2 separate regions of the Homo sapiens genome follow, and region 2 is linked to region 1. The links are contacts of gene promoters, found by promoter capture Hi-C in blood cells and fetal thymus (Javierre and others, 2016). All regions are on one chromosome and are shown on one strand. The core of a region is centred on a gene start or on the middle of the fragment in contact, and the rest is flanking DNA. Distances in the headings are between cores, read along the strand shown.

The links. Contacts are between HindIII fragments. The CHiCAGO score rates a contact against its expected background, and 5 or more counts as called.
Region 2: a fragment that was not itself captured here is called in contact with the fragment with the promoter of VASP in region 1 in 3 of 17 cell types (naive B cells, fetal thymus and naive CD4 T cells); the score reaches 5.7 in naive B cells.

The regions. Positions count from the first base shown.
Region 1 is chr19:45,504,797-45,512,214 of GRCh38, reverse strand. It overlaps VASP (vasodilator stimulated phosphoprotein), which reads right to left and starts at 4,736. Exons shown (of 13, transcript NM_003370.4): 1 at 4,439-4,736. The coding sequence starts at 4,443. LOC107985314 (a long non-coding RNA gene) reads left to right here and starts at 4,841. Exons shown (of 2, transcript XR_007067269.1): 1 at 4,841-5,530. RefSeq lists silencers at 2,672-2,801, 3,612-3,811, 4,406-4,585, 5,266-5,395, 5,426-5,675 and enhancers at 4,736-5,005, 4,287-5,071. The HindIII fragment of the contact is 2,487 bases long and covers 3,485-5,971 here.
Region 2 is chr19:45,771,597-45,779,014 of GRCh38, reverse strand. DMPK (DM1 protein kinase) reads left to right here. Exons shown (of 15, transcript NM_004409.5): 5 at 374-522; 6 at 795-888; 7 at 1,142-1,348; 8 at 1,425-1,688; 9 at 3,981-4,066; 10 at 6,263-6,374; 11 at 7,087-7,244; 12 at 7,350-7,418. It overlaps DM1-AS (DM1 locus antisense RNA), which reads right to left. Exons shown (of 2, transcript NR_147193.1): 2 at 7,132-7,418. Among named protein-coding and RNA genes, the nearest start is that of SIX5, 6.1 kb to the right of the region's middle. RefSeq lists enhancers at 1,307-2,040, 6,867-7,418. The HindIII fragment of the contact is 8,405 bases long and covers 556-7,418 here.

The DNA of each region.
Region 1 (7,418 bases), core at 3,487-5,986:
TGCCTCCATTGAGGGGAACTCAGGAACTGGGGAGGGAAGAAACAAATATTTTGTACCATTTATCTTTTGAGACAGAGTCTCTCACTCTGCACCCAGGCTGGCAGTGGTGTAATCTCAGCTTACTGCAGCCTCCACCTCCCAGGTTCAAGCAATTCTCCTGCCTCAGCCTCCCAGCCTCCACTTCCCGAGTTCAAGCGATTCTCCTGCCTCAGCCTTCTGAGTGTCCGGGATTACAAACGTGTGCCACCACGCCAGGCTAATGTTTCTATTTTCAGTAGAGATGGGGTTTGGGCGTTTGCCACATTGGCCAGGCTGGCCTCAAACTCCTGACCTCAGGTGATCTGCCTGCCTCGACCTCCCAAAGTGCTGGGATTACAGGCATAAGCCACCAGGCCCAGCCACCATTTCAATAATTTCAGTAAGTATTTCAAACTGCTTATTATTTGTTTTCTTATCATGGGTTGAAATTACCTATAAAAACCTAACTCACTACTTAAGTTCAATAAATAAAACTGTAAACTACACAAAAGCCAGAACGAAAATCCCATAGCCATAAAACGGGGGTGCGGGGGCTGTGAGATGGAAAGGAGTTCTGCCCATTTCCAGTGTGTTTTCCCGAAGTCTAGAACCCTCCATTGGACATGAGAACACTTTAATTTTCCAGCCAGCCCAGGACCCACTCCTCCCTGCAAGTCCCCACATTTTGGAAAACTCTAGCACATGGCGGATGAAAAGACGGTTCAAGTTGCCTCCTTGTTGTGTGGCTTTGCCTCTCTGAAACTCAGTTTCCAGCCCTGGAAACAATAACTCACTGGGTTCATTGTAAGGATTAAAAGAGATAATGGACAAAAAGCCCTAAACGCAGGAACTGTAACTTGGTACACGCTCCACATGAAGGAGAGAGCTTCCCATCACCAGAGGTAATCAAGCATGGTGAATCCGGTTTTCACAAAACTTGCAGTCTTACCCTTCCCTTCACTGTCCCCTGAACCCAAGACTTAGCCCATACCCTCCTTATACCATAAAACCTATGATACATATACACCACCCTTCCAAACGACAAATCTTCTTTTGTCGGGGATGGGGCTACTCTAGTCCCTTCCTCCTGGTGGGCCTCAGTTTCCCATAAGTGAATAGGAAGATAAATGTTGCAGCTTCGGTTTCATTTGGCTTATCTGAATTATCTTAAGAGTTTTCACAGTGAAAGCACGTTCCTTTTTTTTTTTCTTTTTCTTCATTAAGAACACGGAAAGCATGTTATCTCTATTTTTTTTTTTTTTTTGAGACAGGGTCTCACTTTGTCACCCAGGCTGGAGTGCAGTGGCAAGAATATGACTCATTGCGGCCTCAACCTCCCCAGCTCAAACGATCCTCTCGCCTCAGCCTCCAGAGTAGCTGGAACTACAGGCGCATGCCACCACACCCAGCTAATTTTTGTATATTTTGTAGAGACGGGGTTACACCATATTGCCCAGGCTGTTCTCAAACTCCTGGGCTCAAGCGATCCTTCTGCCTTGGCCTCCCAAAGTGTTAGGATTACAGGCATGAGCCCCGGCGCCTGGCCCTGTTTGAGTTTAATAGGCACCTTGCCTAACTTTCCTGTGCCTCAGTTTCCCCATCTATAAACTGAGTACCGGGGTGGGGAGGCCACAAGGTTGTAATAGTATCATTGTTCGAACTGCCATGAGGGGCCAGGTGTGGTGGCTGACGTCTGTAATAATAACACTTTAGGAGGTCGAGGCGGGTGGATCACCTGAGGTTAAGAGTTCGAGACCAGCCTGGCCATCACGGTGAAACCCTATCTCTACTAAAAATATAAAAATTAGCCGGGCATGGTGGCAGGCACCTGTAGTCCCAGCTACTCGGAAGGTTGAGGAGGAGAATCGCTTGAACCCAGGAGACGGAGGTTGCAGTGAGCCGAGATCATGCCATTTCACAACAGCCTGGGCAACAAGAGCAAAATTTCCGTCTCAAAACAAACAAACAAACCAACAAAAAAACCAGCCAGAATTGCTGTCAGGCACAAAAATGCCCCACATAAAATAGATGCTTGATCAAATGGTCTCTTATTTTTTAAAAATAAAAATAGCTATTATTGGAAGAAGAAAGAAATGGACCCCAGTTCTCCCCAAGTCCCTTCTGCCCTGAGATTCTAGACCTCTGCCTCGCTTCTCTGTCTTCCCAGCACCCCAGCTCCAGTCCCGGACACAGCCAACACTCAACAAATATTTGTCAAACTGGGAGAAAAAGAACTATATCTTGTAATTTTCCATCTTAACATCCTCTCTTCCAACTGCCCCCAGGACTGTCCCCAGCCAAACCAGCCAGAAATCAGAGGATCCTAGGCTCCTCCACCCCTCCAACGTTGCCTAGGAATTTCTGAGGGATCTTGGCCATGTCTTTTTCTCTTTGAGCCTCAGTTTCCCCAGCTGGGTAATAGGGGCATGGGTTTTGAATTCTGGCTGTCCTTGGAGAAGAGGCACAGCCCAGGAAGTCGGGTGTGACCACCTGCAGGGGAGACCCCCTGGAAAGGTGGGAGTGGCCTTTTGGTGGGACAGGCATCTGGTCATTTCTGCACCGCACCCCACCCCAGCACCCCCACAAGACGGGATGCTTGGCCACCACCACAGCAAGAGGTGGGCCTTGTGGGAGGGCCAGGGCTTCCAGGGCTGGTGCTGGTGGTGGTGGTGGTGGTGGGGAGGACAGGGGGCCGGCCCAGACACCGCTCCTGCCCTTTTACGGTTGCAGTGAGTGAGGCAGCACTAACTCGGACATCCGCCATCCGCCTTCCACCGAGCCTGGGACCGGAAACGCGAGGGGGGGTGGAGGGGCGGGGCTGGGGGGCAAGGGGAGAGAAGAGTCCCGGAGGAAGAGGGCGAAGGAAGAGAGCGACGCTCCCTAAACTGACCCCTCTCCAGGGCGGACTTGGAAGGGATGTTGCTATAATGGGGAGCGGATAGGCAGGAAGTCTTGAGGGTATCTGTGGGTGTCCTCCTTGCTCCAAATTTTCCAGCCATGCCTTTCACATCAGAAGGAACAAACGCGGGAGGGGGATTCTCTAGTGGTCATAAAAAGGAATGCCACGCCACTCCGATGTCAAAGGGCAGGGGTTCAGGAAATGCGGGGGATGTGGGCACCACGGGGTTAATCCCCAACCGTCCCCAGGGGCCTCCCTGCTCAGGCTGGGGGCTTTGGGGCAGGAAGTCCCAGAGAGAGTAGAGGAAGGGAGATAGTATTGTCAGGCTCTGGCCCCATGGGAGAGATTATGGGGGGCCAGGGGAGGGAAGAATAGGGGGGATGGTTGGGCCCCCCTGCCCACACTGGCCCCGCCCTCAGGTGAGCCCAGGAGTTCGGGGGAGGCCCCGGCCAGACCAAATCCCTGGGTCCCTTGGGCCGCCACCCCCAGGATTAAATTCCTGGGAAGATAGCTGGAATTATCTGGGAAGCCTGGGTCCCTAGGGAAGAGGGCTATGACCTTGAAGCTTTCCAGCTCCCCCTCCTCCAACCCCAAGGCTCCGGGTGGATAGGGGGACGGTGAGCAAAGGGGGAGGGGCCGTGGTGGGGAAGGCAGCCGGCCTACAGCGCTTGGTGCCCGCCCCCCACACCAGCTGTCTCGACAGGTGAGTCAGGAAGACAAAGGCCCCCTTCCCCCAGCTGCCGCGCCCCCTCCCTCTCCAGGGCCGCGCAGGTGGGGGAGCCGGGCCGCCCTTATGGCCGGAGGCGGGGAGCCGCCCTCTGCTCCGAGCGCCCGCTCGGTCCTAGGCACGGCCAGTTAAGCAGATTGTGTGCGGAGCGACGGGGAAGGGGGGGGTCCCACCAGACTCTGGAGGCTGCGTCCAGGTCCCTGGATCGGTTCACACCAGCCTCCTCCACAGGAAGACCTAAGTGACCCCCAAAATCCAGGGGATTAAGAAGTACCCCCGAAGTTATGGAGCGCGGTCCCACTTGGGGAGACTTTTTCCAGCACCAAGTAAACGGGGGACCTGCACACCCAGGGTCTGAGTCTCAGTCTCTCTTCCAAGTCCCAGGGTATCCCAAATCGGTCCCCCACAATCCTTCCCGGACCTCGAGCTGAAGTCTGGGGGGAGGGGGAGGAGAGTCTGAGCCCTGCCTCAATCCTGGCATCCCTGCGGGGAGTCGCTGCCAACTTTGAGGTCCTCTAAAAAAAGTCTTAACAATTCGGGAGTCCTCCGAGCGCCCCCAAATCTTGAGGGCTCCCAGGAGAACCTCACCGCCACCACCCCCCGAGCTTGGGGAGTCAGTCGTGGAGAAGTGATCGACGGTTCTGGGGCGCGTCCAAGGGGATTCAGCTCAAATCCGAGGCTCCCAAGGATCTGTCCCCAAATTCCAGCCCGGAGCTAGCTGGGGGGGAGGGGGACAAAGGCGGGGCGCGGAGCCCGCCCGGGCGGGGACGGGTCGGGGGGCAGGTCCGGCTCACCTCATGGCTGCTCGGCGGGCGGGCGGCTCGCCCACGGGCTGGCTGCTCCCGGGGCGCCCCTGGCTGGAGGTTCAGGGGTTCGGGGCTGGCTCCGGGCTCGGCTCAGGCTCCCCCAGGGTCCCGCCCCATAGAGTCCGGCTTCCTGGGGAGAATGTGGACCGGGCCGGGGCGGGTCTCCGGGCGCCGCTTCCCTCAGGCGGTCTGATGAGAGGTTCCTGCAGCAGAAAGGGGATGCAGCGTCCGCTCCCCAGCGCGCACCCCTTGCCGGTGGCGGCTACAGTGTTACTCTTACTACTGTACTTCTCTTCGTTACATTTCGTTCCAAAATTCCACTCCCCGCACCCACAATGCCCCGCGCCTTAAAGGGGCCGCGTGCGCCTCCAGGCGAGGGGGTGGAGGGCGCTTAAAAGGGCAACTCTGCACCCTCGGCTTCCGCGATCTCGCTCCTCTCCCCAATGTTGTAGCCCAGGGGTGCACCCTGGGAATCACCCCCACCTGAGGGGCAAGTTGGTGAAGGGGAAGGGGACCTCCCTTGCTTCCTAGTTCGCTCCCACTGTGGGAATTCTGAGGAGGGTCTCGGAAGGGGCGCGATTTCTTTCCCCATCGACTTCTCCATCTCGTACTCCGCTCAATTTTGGGGGTCGAGGAGGACCCTCAAGTTAAGCAAGTGGTCTCAGATTTTCTCCCTGAAATCCCATCTTCGGAACACCGCCCCTCCCCAGCGTTTCTCTTCTGTCAATTTCGGAGAGGTTACTAAGGGGGCGAGACCCCCACCCGCACGGGAGTGGAAGTCGGGGGAGTAGGGCCCAACCCCTCTCACCCCACCCCGCCCGCCCCGGGAAGGTGAGGAGGAAGTGGGCCAAGGGGGCGCGGTCGGTCGCTGACTCACAGCCGCAGGGTCGGGGGTGGGGTGGGGTGGAGGTGGGGACTGGCGAGGAGTGCGGGAGTGGGGGGCCCGGCATTCGCCCGGGGTGGGCAGGAGGCGCCGGCTTCTTTGGTGTGTAAAGCCTCCGGCCCACGCACGCCCCGCTCTGACTCAGTTTCGCCTGCGGAGGACAGCAGGATCATCCCAGCCCTCAGGAGGGCCCGGAGGTGAGGAGACCCTCCCGGGAGCCCCCGCCCCCACACGCCGGCTCCGGGCTGAGCCCAGACACCCTCTGAGGCTTCCGCAGCGTGTCTTGCCGGCCCCGCCCCGAGTGACGTCACTGATTTGGTCGCGCCCCTTGGGTAGAGCGCCACCTGGCCCGGGTGAGGCGCCCGAGCCCTGGGAAATCAGTTAGTTCCACATTTACACACGGGTAAACTGAGGCCTGGAGACAGGGAATGAATCTGGCCTATGGCCCTCTTGCCTGAGCCCCCAGAACCCGGAAAGCCACCAAGGTCTGAGTGTAAAACCAACAATTCTCAGGGCCAGCTGACTATGTGAGAGAATCCACTTTTCCAGCGTATGTCCAAGCCGAGTCCCATGTCCGGATGTTGATGTTGTCCTGACCTCCTTTACCTGGGGAGCACGTCATCCTTCCAGGCCAAGCTTTGACATTAATTCCCCTCCCCTTCTCCACCCCACTCTGGGAGACCTTGAACCCTGTTCCTCGGAGGTTATCATTGTTTCTCAGTGTGTTTCCTCAGGCTGAGTTGTCTGGGAGAATGGGTAGACTAAATTTCTTTTTTTCTTTTTTTTTTTTTGAGATGTAGTCTCTCGCTGTCACCCAGGCTGGAGGGCGCTGGCTCGATCCCCGCTTACTGCAACCTCCCCCTCCTGGGTTCAAGCAATTCTCCTGCCTCACCCTCCTAAAGTAGCTGGGATTACAGGCACGGGCCACCAAGCCCAACTAATTTTTGTATTTTTAGTAGAGATGGGATTTCACCATGTTGGCCAGGCTGGTCTCAAACTTATGACCTCAGGTGATCTGCCTGCCTCAGTCTCCCAAAGTGCTAGGATTACAGGCATGAGCCACTGCACCCAGTTGACTTAATCAATTTCTGGACCTCACTCACCCCAGCCAGGCCCGCCCGGCTCAGCAGCTCAACAAACTTACCTAGTTGAATGAGTTACCAGTTCAGTGTGACCTTGGGTAACTGTGTTCTCCTCTCTGGGTCTCAGCTTTCCCATCTGTGACATAGGAGGGGTGGCATTTCTGGGTGCCACCTACACTACAACAACAGTCAGCAAACATGGTTTTTTGTTTGTTTGTTTGTTGGAGACAGGGTCTTTGTTGCCCATGCCGGAGCGCAGTAGCATAACCAGGGCTCATTCGATCCTCTAACCTCAGCCCACTGAGTAGCTGGGACTGTAGGTCCACACCACCATGCCAGGCTAATTTTTTGTAGAGACAGGGTTTAGCTGTGTTGCCCAGGCTGGTCTCAAACTCCTGGGCTAAAGTGATCAGCCTGGCTCAGCCTCCCAAAGTGCTGGGATTGGAGGTGTGAGTCACCAGGCCCAGCCGGCAAACATTTTCTGTAAAAGTTCAAATAGGAAATATTTTAGATATGCTAGACATAGGGTCTGGTTTACACACTCTTCAGTTTTTCTTTTTTCTTACAAGGCTTAAAAACTGTAAAAAAAACTCTTCTTAGCTTAAGTGCTGTACAAAACAGGTAGCAAGACCCCTGTGTAAGAGAACGCTTGCATATGTACATAACGATCTTTACGGTAGCAGTGATGTGAGAGCAAGAAATTGGAAATAGCTTAAATGTTCATCAAGAGGACAGGGGAGGCTGGGCACAGTGGCTCACGCCTGTAATCCCAGCACTTTGGGAGGCCGAGGCGGGTGGATCACTTGAGGTCAGGAGTTCAAGACCAGCCTGGCCAACATGGTGAAACCCCGTTTCTACCAAAAACAAAAAATTAACCAGGCATGGTGGCACACACCTGTAATCCCAGCTACTTGGGTGGCTGAGGGGCTGAGGTGGGAGGATCACTTGAACCCCGGAGGCGGAGGTTGCAGTGAGCCAAGATCGTGACACTACACTCCAGCCT
Region 2 (7,418 bases), core at 3,509-6,008, 270 kb before region 1:
GGTCTCTTACCTGGAATGGGATAGGTCTTCAGGAATTCTAACGGGGCCACTGCCTAGGGAAGGAGTGTCTGGGACCTATTCTCTGGGTGTTGGGTGGCCTCTGGGTTCTCTTTCCCAGAACATCTCAGGGGGAGTGAATCTGCCCAGTGACATCCCAGGAAAGTTTTTTTGTTTGTGTTTTTTTTTGAGGGGCGGGGGCGGGGGCCGCAGGTGGTCTCTGATTTGGCCCGGCAGATCTCTATGGTTATCTCTGGGCTGGGGCTGCAGGTCTCTGCCCAAGGATGGGGTGTCTCTGGGAGGGGTTGTCCCAGCCATCCGTGATGGATCAGGGCCTCAGGGGACTACCAACCACCCATGACGAACCCCTTCTCAGTACCTGGTCATGGAGTATTACGTGGGCGGGGACCTGCTGACACTGCTGAGCAAGTTTGGGGAGCGGATTCCGGCCGAGATGGCGCGCTTCTACCTGGCGGAGATTGTCATGGCCATAGACTCGGTGCACCGGCTTGGCTACGTGCACAGGTGGGTGCAGCATGGCCGAGGGGATAGCAAGCTTGTTCCCTGGCCGGGTTCTTGGAAGGTCAGAGCCCAGAGAGGCCAGGGCCTGGAGAGGGACCTTCTTGGTTGGGGCCCACCGGGGGGTGCCTGGGAGTAGGGGTCAGAACTGTAGAAGCCCTACAGGGGCGGAACCCGAGGAAGTGGGGTCCCAGGTGGCACTGCCCGGAGGGGCGGAGCCTGGTGGGACCACAGAAGGGAGGTTCATTTATCCCACCCTTCTCTTTTCCTCCGTGCAGGGACATCAAACCCGACAACATCCTGCTGGACCGCTGTGGCCACATCCGCCTGGCCGACTTCGGCTCTTGCCTCAAGCTGCGGGCAGATGGAACGGTGAGCCAGTGCCCTGGCCACAGAGCAACTGGGGCTGCTGATGAGGGATGGAAGGCACAGAGTGTGGGAGCGGGACTGGATTTGGAGGGGAAAAGAGGTGGTGTGACCCAGGCTTAAGTGTGCATCTGTGTGGCGGAGTATTAGACCAGGCAGAGGGAGGGGCTAAGCATTTGGGGAGTGGTTGGAAGGAGGGCCCAGAGCTGGTGGGCCCAGAGGGGTGGGCCCAAGCCTCGCTCTGCTCCTTTTGGTCCAGGTGCGGTCGCTGGTGGCTGTGGGCACCCCAGACTACCTGTCCCCCGAGATCCTGCAGGCTGTGGGCGGTGGGCCTGGGACAGGCAGCTACGGGCCCGAGTGTGACTGGTGGGCGCTGGGTGTATTCGCCTATGAAATGTTCTATGGGCAGACGCCCTTCTACGCGGATTCCACGGCGGAGACCTATGGCAAGATCGTCCACTACAAGGTGAGCACGGCCGCAGGGAGACCTGGCCTCTCCCGGTAGGCGCTCCCAGGCTATCGCCTCCTCTCCCTCTGAGCAGGAGCACCTCTCTCTGCCGCTGGTGGACGAAGGGGTCCCTGAGGAGGCTCGAGACTTCATTCAGCGGTTGCTGTGTCCCCCGGAGACACGGCTGGGCCGGGGTGGAGCAGGCGACTTCCGGACACATCCCTTCTTCTTTGGCCTCGACTGGGATGGTCTCCGGGACAGCGTGCCCCCCTTTACACCGGATTTCGAAGGTGCCACCGACACATGCAACTTCGACTTGGTGGAGGACGGGCTCACTGCCATGGTGAGCGGGGGCGGGGTAGGTACCTGTGGCCCCTGCTCGGCTGCGGGAACCTCCCCATGCTCCCTCCATAAAGTTGGAGTAAGGACAGTGCCTACCTTCTGGGGTCCTGAATCACTCATTCCCCAGAGCACCTGCTCTGTGCCCATCTACTACTGAGGACCCAGCAGTGACCTAGACTTACAGTCCAGTGGGGGAACACAGAGCAGTCTTCAGACAGTAAGGCCCCAGAGTGATCAGGGCTGAGACAATGGAGTGCAGGGGGTGGGGGACTCCTGACTCAGCAAGGAAGGTCCTGGAGGGCTTTCTGGAGTGGGGAGCTATCTGAGCTGAGACTTGGAGGGATGAGAAGCAGGAGAGGACTCCTCCTCCCTTAGGCCGTCTCTCTTCACCGTGTAACAAGCTGTCATGGCATGCTTGCTCGGCTCTGGGTGCCCTTTTGCTGAACAATACTGGGGATCCAGCACGGACCAGATGAGCTCTGGTCCCTGCCCTCATCCAGTTGCAGTCTAGAGAATTAGAGAATTATGGAGAGTGTGGCAGGTGCCCTGAAGGGAAGCAACAGGATACAAGAAAAAATGATGGGGCCAGGCACGGTGGCTCACGCCTGTAACCCCAGCAATTTGGCAGGCCGAAGTGGGTGGATTGCTTGAGCCCAGGAGTTCGAGACCAGCCTGGGCAATGTGGTGAGACCCCCGTCTCTACAAAAATGTTTTAAAAATTGGTTGGGCGTGGTGGCGCATGCCTGTATACTCAGCTACTAGGGTGGCCGACGTGGGCTTGAGCCCAGGAGGTCAAGGCTGCAGTGAGCTGTGATTGTGCCACTGCACTCCAGCCTGGGCAACGGAGAGAGACTCTGTCTCAAAAATAAGATAAACTGAAATTAAAAAATAGGCTGGGCTGGCCGGGCGTGGTGGCTCACGCCTGTAATCTCAGCACTTTGGGAGGCCGAGGCGGGTGGATCACGAGGTCAGGAGATCGAGACCATCTTGGCTAACACGGTGAAACCCCATCTCTCCTAAAAATACAAAAAATTAGCCAGGCGTGGTGGCGGGCGCCTGTAGTCCCAGCTACTCAGGAGGCTGAGGCAGGAGAATGGCGTGAACCCGGGAGGCAGAGTTTGCAGTGAGCCGAGATCGTGCCACTGCACTCCAGCCTGGGCGACAGAGCGAGACTCTGTCTCAGAAAAAAAAAAAAAAAAAAAAAAAAATAGGCTGGACCGCGGCCGGGCGCTGTGGCTCATGCCTGTAATCCCAGCACTTTGGGAGTCCAAGGCCGGTGGGTCATGAGATCAGGAGTTTTGAGACTAGGCTGGCCAACACGGTGAAACCCCGTCTCTACTAAAAATACAAGAAAATTAGCTGGGTGTGGTCTCGGGTGCCTGTAATTCCAGTTACTGGGGAAGCTGAGGCAGGAGAATTGCTTGAACCTGGGAGGCAGAGTTTGCAGTGAGCCAAGATCATGCCACTACACTCCAGTCTGGGTGACAGAGTGAGACTCTGTCTCAAAAAAAAAAAAAAAAAAAAGGGTTGGGCAAGGTGGTTCACGCCTGTAATCCCAGAACTTTGGGAGGCTGAGGCAGGCAGATCACTGGAAGTCAGGAGTTCAAGACCAGCCTGGCCAACATGGTGAAACCCTGTGTCTACTAAAAATACAAAATTTAGCCAGGCTTGGTGGCGTATGCCTGTAATGCCAGCTACTCAGGAGGCTGAGGCAGGAGAATCGCTTGATTGAACCTGGGAGGCAGAGTTTGCAGTGGGCTGGGGTTGTGCCACTGCACTCTAGGCTGGGAGACAGCAAGACTCCATCTAAAAAAAAAAAACAGAACTGGGCTGGGCACAGTGGCTTATATTTGTAATCCCAGCACTTTGGGAGGCTGAGGTTGGAGGACTGCTTGAGCCCAGAGTTTGGGACTACAACAGCTGAGGTAGGCGGATCACTTGAGGTCAGAAGATGGAGACCAGCCTGGCCAGCGTGGCGAAACCCCGTCTCTACCAAAAATATAAAAAATTAGCCAGGCGTGGTAGAGGGCGCCTGTAATCTCAGCTACTCAGGACGCTGAGGCAGGAGAATCGCCTGAACCTGGGAGGCGGAGGTTGCAGTGAGCTGAGATTGCACCACTGCACTCCAGCCTGGGTAACAGAGCGAGACTCCGTATCAAAGAAAAAGAAAAAAGAAAAAATGCTGGAGGGGCCACTTTAGATAAGCCCTGAGTTGGGGCTGGTTTGGGGGGAACATGTAAGCCAAGATCAAAAAGCAGTGAGGGGCCCGCCCTGACGACTGCTGCTCACATCTGTGTGTCTTGCGCAGGAGACACTGTCGGACATTCGGGAAGGTGCGCCGCTAGGGGTCCACCTGCCTTTTGTGGGCTACTCCTACTCCTGCATGGCCCTCAGGTAAGCACTGCCCTGGACGGCCTCCAGGGGCCACGAGGCTGCTTGAGCTTCCTGGGTCCTGCTCCTTGGCAGCCAATGGAGTTGCAGGATCAGTCTTGGAACCTTACTGTTTTGGGCCCAAAGACTCCTAAGAGGCCAGAGTTGGAGGACCTTAAATTTTCAGATCTATGTACTTCAAAATGTTAGATTGAATTTTAAAACCTCAGAGTCACAGACTGGGCTTCCCAGAATCTTGTAACCATTAACTTTTACGTCTGTAGTACACAGAGCCACAGGACTTCAGAACTTGGAAAATATGAAGTTTAGACTTTTACAATCAGTTGTAAAAGAATGCAAATTCTTTGAATCAGCCATATAACAATAAGGCCATTTAAAAGTATTAATTTAGGCGGGCCGCGGTGGCTCACGCCTGTAATCCTAGCACTTTGGGAGGCCAAGGCAGGTGGATCATGAGGTCAGGAGATCGAGACCATCCTGGCTAACACGGTGAAACCCCGTCTCTACTAAAAATACAAAAAAATTAGCCGGGCATGGTGGCGGGCGCTTGCGGTCCCAGCTACTTGGGAGGCGAGGCAGGAGAATGGCATGAACCCGGGAGGCGGAGCTTGCAGTGAGCCGAGATCATGCCACTGCACTCCAGCCTGGGCGACAGAGCAAGACTCCGTCTCAAAAAAAAAAAAAAAAAAGTATTTATTTAGGCCGGGTGTGGTGGCTCACGCCTGTAATTCCAGTGCTTTGGGAGGATGAGGTGGGTGGATCACCTGAGGTCAGGAGTTCGAGACCAGCCTGACCAACGTGGAGAAACCTCATCTCTACTAAAAAACAAAATTAGCCAGGCGTGGTGGCATATACCTGTAATCCCAGCTACTCAGGAGGCTGAGGCAGGAGAATCAGAACCCAGGAGGGGGAGGTTGTGGTGAGCTGAGATCGTGCCATTGCATTCCAGCCTGGGCAACAAGAGTGAAACTTCATCTCAAAAAAAAAAAAAAAAAAGTACTAATTTACAGGCTGGGCATGGTGGCTCACGCTTGGAATCCCAGCACTTTGGGAGGCTGAAGTGGACGGATTGCTTCAGCCCAGGAGTTCAAGACCAGCCTGAGCAACATAATGAGACCCTGTCTCTACAAAAAATTGAAAAAATCGTGCCAGGCATGGTGGTCTGTGCCTGCAGTCCTAGCTACTCAGGAGTCTGAAGTAGGAGAATCACTTGAGCCTGGAGTTTGAGGCTTCAGTGAGCCATGATAGATTCCAGCCTAGGCAACAAAGTGAGACCTGGTCTCAACAAAAGTATTAATTACACAAATAATGCATTGCTTATCACAAGTAAATTAGAAAATACAGATAAGGAAAAGGAAGTTGATATCTCGTGAGCTCACCAGATGGCAGTGGTCCCTGGCTCACACGTGTACTGACACATGTTTAAATAGTGGAGAACAGGTGTTTTTTTGGTTTGTTTTTTTCCCCTTCCTCATGCTACTTTGTCTAAGAGAACAGTTGGTTTTCTAGTCAGCTTTTATTACTGGACAACATTACACATACTATACCTTATCATTAATGAACTCCAGCTTGATTCTGAACCGCTGCGGGGCCTGAACGGTGGGTCAGGATTGAACCCATCCTCTATTAGAACCCAGGCGCATGTCCAGGATAGCTAGGTCCTGAGCCGTGTTCCCACAGGAGGGACTGCTGGGTTGGAGGGGACAGCCACTTCATACCCCAGGGAGGAGCTGTCCCCTTCCCACAGCTGAGTGGGGTGTGCTGACCTCAAGTTGCCATCTTGGGGTCCCATGCCCAGTCTTAGGACCACATCTGTGGAGGTGGCCAGAGCCAAGCAGTCTCCCCATCAGGTCGGCCTCCCTGTCCTGAGGCCCTGAGAAGAGGGGTCTGCAGCGGTCACATGTCAAGGGAGGAGATGAGCTGACCCTAGAACATGGGGGTCTGGACCCCAAGTCCCTGCAGAAGGTTTAGAAAGAGCAGCTCCCAGGGGCCCAAGGCCAGGAGAGGGGCAGGGCTTTTCCTAAGCAGAGGAGGGGCTATTGGCCTACCTGGGACTCTGTTCTCTTCGCTCTGCTGCTCCCCTTCCTCAAATCAGGAGGTCTTGGAAGCAGCTGCCCCTACCCACAGGCCAGAAGTTCTGGTTCTCCACCAGAGAATCAGCATTCTGTCTCCCTCCCCACTCCCTCCTCCTCTCCCCAGGGACAGTGAGGTCCCAGGCCCCACACCCATGGAACTGGAGGCCGAGCAGCTGCTTGAGCCACACGTGCAAGCGCCCAGCCTGGAGCCCTCGGTGTCCCCACAGGATGAAACAGTAAGTTGGTGGAGGGGAGGGGGTCCGTCAGGGACAATTGGGAGAGAAAAGGTGAGGGCTTCCCGGGTGGCGTGCACTGTAGAGCCCTCTAGGGACTTCCTGAACAGAAGCAGACAGAAACCACGGAGAGACGAGGTTACTTCAGACATGGGACGGTCTCTGTAGTTACAGTGGGGCATTAAGTAAGGGTGTGTGTGTTGCTGGGGATCTGAGAAGTCGATCTTTGAGCTGAGCGCTGGTGAAGGAGAAACAAGCCATGGAAGGAAAGGTGCCAAGTGGTCAGGCGAGAGCCTCCAGGGCAAAGGCCTTGGGCAGGTGGGAATCCTGATTTGTTCCTGAAAGGTAGTTTGGCTGAATCATTCCTGAGAAGGCTGGAGAGGCCAGCAGGAAACAAAACCCAGCAAGGCCTTTTGTCGTGAGGGCATTAGGGAGCTGGAGGGATTTTGAGCAGCAGAGGGACATAGGTTGTGTTAGTGTTTGAGCACCAGCCCTCTGGTCCCTGTGTAGATTTAGAGGACCAGACTCAGGGATGGGGCTGAGGGAGGTAGGGAAGGGAGGGGGCTTGGATCATTGCAGGAGCTATGGGGATTCCAGAAATGTTGAGGGGACGGAGGAGTAGGGGATAAACAAGGATTCCTAGCCTGGAACCAGTGCCCAAGTCCTGAGTCTTCCAGGAGCCACAGGCAGCCTTAAGCCTGGTCCCCATACACAGGCTGAAGTGGCAGTTCCAGCGGCTGTCCCTGCGGCAGAGGCTGAGGCCGAGGTGACGCTGCGGGAGCTCCAGGAAGCCCTGGAGGAGGAGGTGCTCACCCGGCAGAGCCTGAGCCGGGAGATGGAGGCCATCCGCACGGACAACCAGAACTTCGCCAGGTCGGGATCGGGGCCGGGGCCGGGGCCGGGATGCGGGCCGGTGGCAACCCTTGGCATCCCCTCTCGTCCGGCCCGGACGGACTCACCGTCCTTACCTCCCCACAGTCAACTACGCGAGGCAGAGGCTCGGAACCGGGACCTAGAGGCACACGTCCGGCAGTTGCAGGAGCGGAT